2 separate regions of the Homo sapiens genome follow, and region 2 is linked to region 1. The links are contacts of gene promoters, found by promoter capture Hi-C in blood cells and fetal thymus (Javierre and others, 2016). All regions are on one chromosome and are shown on one strand. Each heading gives the region's core, a stretch centred on a gene start or on the middle of the fragment in contact. The rest is flanking DNA. Distances are from core to core; before and after follow the strand shown.

Evidence for each region. Contacts are between HindIII fragments. The CHiCAGO score rates a contact against its expected background, and 5 or more counts as called.
Region 2: a contact is called between a fragment that was not itself captured here and the fragment with the promoter of ADAMTS5 in region 1, in 3 of 17 cell types (M2 macrophages, M0 macrophages and M1 macrophages). The highest score is 8.1, in M2 macrophages.

The regions. Positions count from the first base shown.
Region 1 is chr21:26,965,555-26,968,825 of GRCh38, reverse strand. ADAMTS5 (ADAM metallopeptidase with thrombospondin type 1 motif 5) reads left to right here and starts at 1,738. Exons shown (of 8, transcript NM_007038.5): 1 at 1,738-3,271. The coding sequence starts at 2,435. LOC124905050 reads left to right here. Exons shown (of 3, transcript XM_047441063.1): 2 at 856-1,382; 3 at 1,742-2,170. The coding sequence ends at 2,170. The HindIII fragment of the contact is 6,499 bases long and covers 1-3,271 here.
Region 2 is chr21:28,136,823-28,140,093 of GRCh38, reverse strand. It overlaps LINC01697 (long intergenic non-protein coding RNA 1697), which reads right to left. Exons shown (of 5, transcript NR_126010.1): 5 at 2,485-3,271. The region is part of intron 5 of LINC01695 (long intergenic non-protein coding RNA 1695); the gene reads left to right. Among named protein-coding and RNA genes, the nearest start is that of LINC01697, 90 kb to the right of the region's middle. The HindIII fragment of the contact is 2,180 bases long and covers 669-2,848 here.

The DNA of each region.
Region 1 (3,271 bases), core at 489-2,988:
TGAGAGGCTGAGGCATTGTGGAATTATAAAGCAATGGCCTTCAGCAATAGTAACTTCCTCCCTGGTCCTGATGTATTTCAGAATCTATCAGGGGCTGTTGGGTGTCCCTAAGGCCCCAGTGATTTCTTTATTTATAAGTTAAAACAAGATGATACATCTGCCCCTCACAAGACTCCAGAGGGTGTTCCCAGGCACACGGCAATGGGTATTGTTGCCGGGCAATTCTGAAATTCCTTCCAGAGGATTATTGCCACTCTAAGAACCTCCATCAAGCTCTGGACCCTCATGGTTCCCTCCCAGAGAAAGCGATCAGCTTGGGGCCCCATTAAGGCACCCGCCCTGCTATCCCCAGCGTAGCCAAAGTTAAACGTAGAAAAAGATGGAAATGTACAAATTACACCACATTCATTTTTCACTGGTGCATTAGTTAATTAGCCTGAAGAATAATTTGGGCATGGAGGGAGCTCTTACCCCTACAGTAGAAGGTAGACCTTCTAACCATAAGTCGTCGGGTTTTCCTTCTCCCTTCTTAGAATGATAATTAGAGGAAACAAAGAGGTCAGAGGAAACGAGTAGCAGTGATAATGTCACCCGCGTACTAATAAGCACCAATCTTCCTTCCGCCAAAAGTATTCTTTTTCTTCTAAAAGGAATTTCTGAGAATGAAGGTAGGTCAAGGCCTATGGCGATAAGTGGTTGCTTTAGAAGAGACAAAAACAGATATAGGAATTTATTATTAAAGTATCATTTAAGCAAAAAATAAAAGTATGAGCGCAAAATTTTAAAATCTTTCAGGGAAAAAAAATGAGCGGAATTCCCTCTAAGAGTTAACTCTTTCTCGCTCTGCCTTTTTAGAGCAAAGGAAGTTCCAGTGGGCTGGGAGTAAGGGACAGATTGTGGACCCTGACGAAAGGCGTGCTGGAGAAAGCTGGGAGCCCGCCGTTCGCACACAAAGCTGCGGAGTTCCCAAGCGGCGGGCGTTCTCGCCCCGGGGTACCGCAGCGCGCCAGGAAGCGCCCTGGGCTCTCTGGCTGTCCAGCCGCTCTGCTGGTGGCCGGGAGAAGTTAGTCACCCGGAGCCCGAATCCGGCGAGCGTCAAAGCATCAAGAGGCTGGAGAATGGGGAGGGAGGAAACCGGGTGCCGGGACGGAGGGGAGGAAGCGAAGGGAACGCGGTGGTTAGGGGACGCACGGGAAGCTGAAAAGCTCTGGCTGGTGGATGGAGTTGCACGGTCTGCGAGGCCAGAGCGCACGGGTGTGCAAAGGGGAAAAACTTGCGGCAGGAACTTCCCACCGAGGGCGAGAAAAGCAGGCAAGAAGGAGGCAGGGAGAGACTTGAAACGTCTCAATAACTTTAACCAAAACACCCGTTCAGGAGATGAGGTAAGCCAAGGTTAGCCAACCCCAATTGGTTGTGAAATATCAGACAGACCCGGAGCCGCTGTGGCTTTAAAAGTGGCCAAGGAAATCTGTTTTTCTTGCCCCATTACTTTTTATTTTCCCCTCTCCCCTCCTACCACCTCGCCGGGTCCCAGTCCCTTCCTCCTACTTCGTCTCCCTTTCCTCGATCACCCTCCTCTTTTGCCCTCCCCCATCTGATTAGGCGCGGACTGGGAAGGGTGGGAGTGGTGGGGGAAGCTCTCCCTTTAAGAGGCAGCGTGCAGTGACGAACTGTTGAAATTGCCATTGCAGGATGGCATGCCGCTATAAATTCATTGTTCCACCTCCTCGCATCTTCACAGCGCTCGCGCTGCTCTCGGCGCTCGCAGCTGCCGACTGGGGATGACGGCGGGCAGGAGGAGACCGCAGCCGAAGGGACACAGACACGCCGCTTCACCAGCTCGCCTCAGGCTGCCCCCCTGCATTTTTGTTTTAATTTTTACGGCTTTTTCCCCTCTCTTTCTTCCCTTCCTCCTGGTCCCAGCAGAGCCAAGGAAACCCACAAAATAAGAAAGGAAGTGGGCCCCGGAGCTTGGAACCTCCACAGCCGGCTTGTCCAGCGCAGCGCGGGGGCGGGAGGCTGCGCGCACCAGTTGCCAGCCCGGTGCGCGGTACCTTTCCTTACTTTTCTTGAAACAGCGATCGTGCCTGCATTTGGTGGTTTTTTGGTTTTTGTTTTTTTCCTTTTCCCGTATTTGCTGAATCTCCACTATCCGACTTTTTTTTTTTAATCTTTTCTTTCCCCCCCCCCCCACCCCACCTCTTTCTGGAGCACGAATCCAAACATTTTCCCAAGCAACAAAGAAAAGTTCGCACGCTGGCACCGCAGCCCGGACAGGCTGGCGCTGCTGCCGGGCCCCCCTCCCTCCGACACTTGACTCAATCCTGCAAGCAAGTGTGTGTGTGTCCCCATCCCCCGCCCCGTTAACTTCATAGCAAATAACAAATACCCATAAAGTCCCAGTCGCGCAGCCCCTCCCCGCGGGCAGCGCACTATGCTGCTCGGGTGGGCGTCCCTGCTGCTGTGCGCGTTCCGCCTGCCCCTGGCCGCGGTCGGCCCCGCCGCGACACCTGCCCAGGATAAAGCCGGGCAGCCTCCGACTGCTGCAGCAGCCGCCCAGCCCCGCCGGCGGCAGGGGGAGGAGGTGCAGGAGCGAGCCGAGCCTCCCGGCCACCCGCACCCCCTGGCGCAGCGGCGCAGGAGCAAGGGGCTGGTGCAGAACATCGACCAACTCTACTCCGGCGGCGGCAAGGTGGGCTACCTCGTCTACGCGGGCGGCCGGAGGTTCCTCTTGGACCTGGAGCGAGATGGTTCGGTGGGCATTGCTGGCTTCGTGCCCGCAGGAGGCGGGACGAGTGCGCCCTGGCGCCACCGGAGCCACTGCTTCTATCGGGGCACAGTGGACGGTAGTCCCCGCTCTCTGGCTGTCTTTGACCTCTGTGGGGGTCTCGACGGCTTCTTCGCGGTCAAGCACGCGCGCTACACCCTAAAGCCACTGCTGCGCGGACCCTGGGCGGAGGAAGAAAAGGGGCGCGTGTACGGGGATGGGTCCGCACGGATCCTGCACGTCTACACCCGCGAGGGCTTCAGCTTCGAGGCCCTGCCGCCGCGCGCCAGCTGCGAAACCCCCGCGTCCACACCGGAGGCCCACGAGCATGCTCCGGCGCACAGCAACCCGAGCGGACGCGCAGCACTGGCCTCGCAGCTCTTGGACCAGTCCGCTCTCTCGCCCGCTGGGGGCTCAGGACCGCAGACGTGGTGGCGGCGGCGGCGCCGCTCCATCTCCCGGGCCCGCCAGGTGGAGCTGCTTCTGGTGGCTGACGCGTCCATG
Region 2 (3,271 bases), core at 509-3,008, 1.2 Mb before region 1:
CGGCACCAACTCAGCATCCAAAATGTCACCTCACCCACTCAAAAGCTTCAAATCACATAACCTAAATTATTTAATTTATGCATGAGGAAAGCTCTGGTATAATCCATTCTGAGGTACAATTTCTCTTTATTGTGAATCTTTGAAAGTGAAAACATAAGTTACCTGTTTCTGAAATATGATGGTAGGGCAGGCATAGGATAATAGTTACAGACAGTCCTGTTTTCAAGAGGGAGAAAATCCTAGGTAAAAAAACAATCACTTGTCCCAAGCCATTTCTAGATTCTGCTAGAGAAATTAGGTTCCTAGATCCAAGACTAATACGATGTTGCTTTTAGCTTTTCCTTCTAAACCTGTGGCTTCCTCCTCTGAGTCCTTTCATGTATATGAAAAGTGGCAGATCTTTGCAACTGAGTAGCTGTGTAAGCTTCTTTCCTGCCAGAATTTTGGAGGTTTAATAGTCTTCTTTAATTTCGTATTTTCTCTGTTCCTTTCAATACAGACTGACAGTGTTTCTCCTGATATAAAATTCTCAAGAACCAAGTGGGTCTCCCATGTATGCCACAGGGGTTCACTCCATAATATGAGACTCTTTCAGAGATCTTTCTTAGATAATCAGTCTTCTATTTTTGCCTTCTGCTGAGATATGTGAGGGACAGTAACCTTAAGCTTCCTCGATGCTCTTTGGTTTGATTGAGGAAATCTAATCTCTTCAAAGAGCCCTTTATATTTGAGTACTTTTGATCTTTTTGAGGCATTAGCAAATTGCTGAGGTATAAAAACAGAAGGTTACTACAGCCGTGTCCTAGGCTTTTTCTTTAGATTATCTATCCCTGTTACTGAGTTTCTTTATTTTAATATCTTTTGCAGTCTGAATAAACTGAGAATTTCCAAAATCATTATGTCTTGGTTTCTTTTTGTTTAAACGGTTCTTTTCTCAAATTATCTCTTTCTCATTGCATTTTGCTATGAGAAGAAACAAGAAGCCAGGCGGCTTCTTCAACCCTTTGCTTGGAAATATCCTTACTTACGTATTCAATTTCATCATTTACAAGTTCTATTTTTCACCTGAACGTAGGACAACTTTGCTAAGTTTCTACCGCTATATAATATGGAAATTCTTTCTTCAAATTTTTAATGTGTTTTTTATTTCCTTCTAAGCCTTCACCAATAGTACTTTTTATGTCCCTATTTTTACTAAGTCTGTTCATGCTGATTCATGTATGCTCTAACGCAGTCTATGCCTTCTCTACCATGCTCTTCTCTTCACTTTCTTCTAAGTCCTTTCTAGCAGAATCATTAACAACCACATTTCTACTAACAATGTGTTCAAAACAATGTAAGTTTTTCTCGGATGACCTTCAACATTCTCTTAGCCTCACTCACTGCCGAATTCCAAAGCCACTTTGACATTTTATAGATATTTGTTACAGCAGTATATAACTCTCAGACATCAAAATTTGTATGAGTTTCCTAATGTCGCCATAACAAATTACCACACATGCATGCAGTGACTTTAAAAACACAAGCAGCTGGCAATACACTCTTCCTAGCAATGCTTCCTAAACAGAATGGACAGTATTCCCTCAAGTTTCAGCTGAAGTCCACCTGCTCCAAGGGACAGAAGCAACAGTGATTTTCTCTTCTGTCCACATTATGCTCATTAACTGCATGACTCAGTGCTATTTACCATGGGTTCTGCTGTATCGCTAGTTATTTATCTTCATAATATGTGAAGTTATCTAAAGAATACAATTAGATAGTTGAGGACAGGAACTTCTGGCATTCCTAGAATTTATGAGTGTTTTTATATGGTAGCCAGTCTGAATCCATTTGTGATGATGATGAAAAACACAACAGATAGCTGGATAGTTAATGTAGGAAACTTTGCTTTATGAAATAAAATTTTGAGAAAGCTAAATATATTTTCCTAACATTGAATCGCTTACGTGTGTTTTATGTAACAACTTATTAATCTCTAATTTTTAATAAGTACAGCTATTATTTATAAAATATTTTAGCTTATAAATAATTTTAACACACTATATCATTTGATCTCAAACATGTAAAAATACTTATTACACAAAGGAGGAACATAGAGTTACCACTTGATTTCAGTTGTGTTTGCTGACTGACGTAGGGTCAAAGAATACATTAGTAGCACTACTGAAACATAACTCTATGGTATATGATTCTAAAACCTGTGTTTTTCCCACTATGCTATATGTACATTCTTATTTCATGAATTTAGACTACATTTAATAACTGACACACGTACTATTTGTTCAACAACAGTTAAGTTCTTAAGAAGTAATGATGGTGCAAAAAGAAAATTTTAATCTTGCCTAATTCTTAATGTAATCAGTAAAAATATAATAATATTGTATCTGACAGAGAGGGCAATTATTCAAATTTTAAAAGACATTCACATCATGAGTAGTTGAGATAAATAACTATCCTGAAAAACCACTGACCATAATGAGTTATTGTTAGCAAGATTTATATTGTACTTTTGAAGTTCTTCTAGAGGCACACAATCAACCATAGGTTTTATCTAACAATAGTAAAAGTAATCCCAAAACATAAAAAGTAGTTGCTGTATTGAAAAGTATATTATAGGACAATAATTAAATGGATGATAAGGAAACCTTGTTACAGGTGATTCACACCACTTCAAAAACAGCAAAAGAAAAAATTGATATTAACATGTACCAATTATAATGCATTATTATGAAATATTTAAAATGGGGAATCCAAGATGACATAGTTTTTAACTCATCCACATACTGGAAGTTTAGAGAAACTCAGAATTTCTTATTTCTTTTTCTTTTTCCTCCATAGCATAAAAGCTTTGCTAATAAGAATAAATATATATATTGGAGTTTTAGTGTTTGATCCTGTGATCAGTTGTAACCGTGTGTCATAAAACTCTCTCACAGATTCCATCTTTCCCAAATCTTCTGATCATAACACAGATTGCCATATAGACTTCCCTTGTAAGAGAATATGCTGGCCATAAGGCAGCAAAGTGAACTTGCAGTTTCACTTCTTGTAAATTAATGCATTTGCATTGACTTCTATAAAATAATCTCTCCTGAATTTTTTTGCTTAGTCAACTTACTGTGTGCAAGCAACAGAAATTGTCTCTGGTTAACTTTTACAGCACAATTAAAAATTGTATGAAGAAGCATACAAAATTTGTATGAGGCTGAATCAGCCTCATTAAATGGTCAGTGATTAAGGGAATTTATGTAGGACACTTCTTTTGGATTCT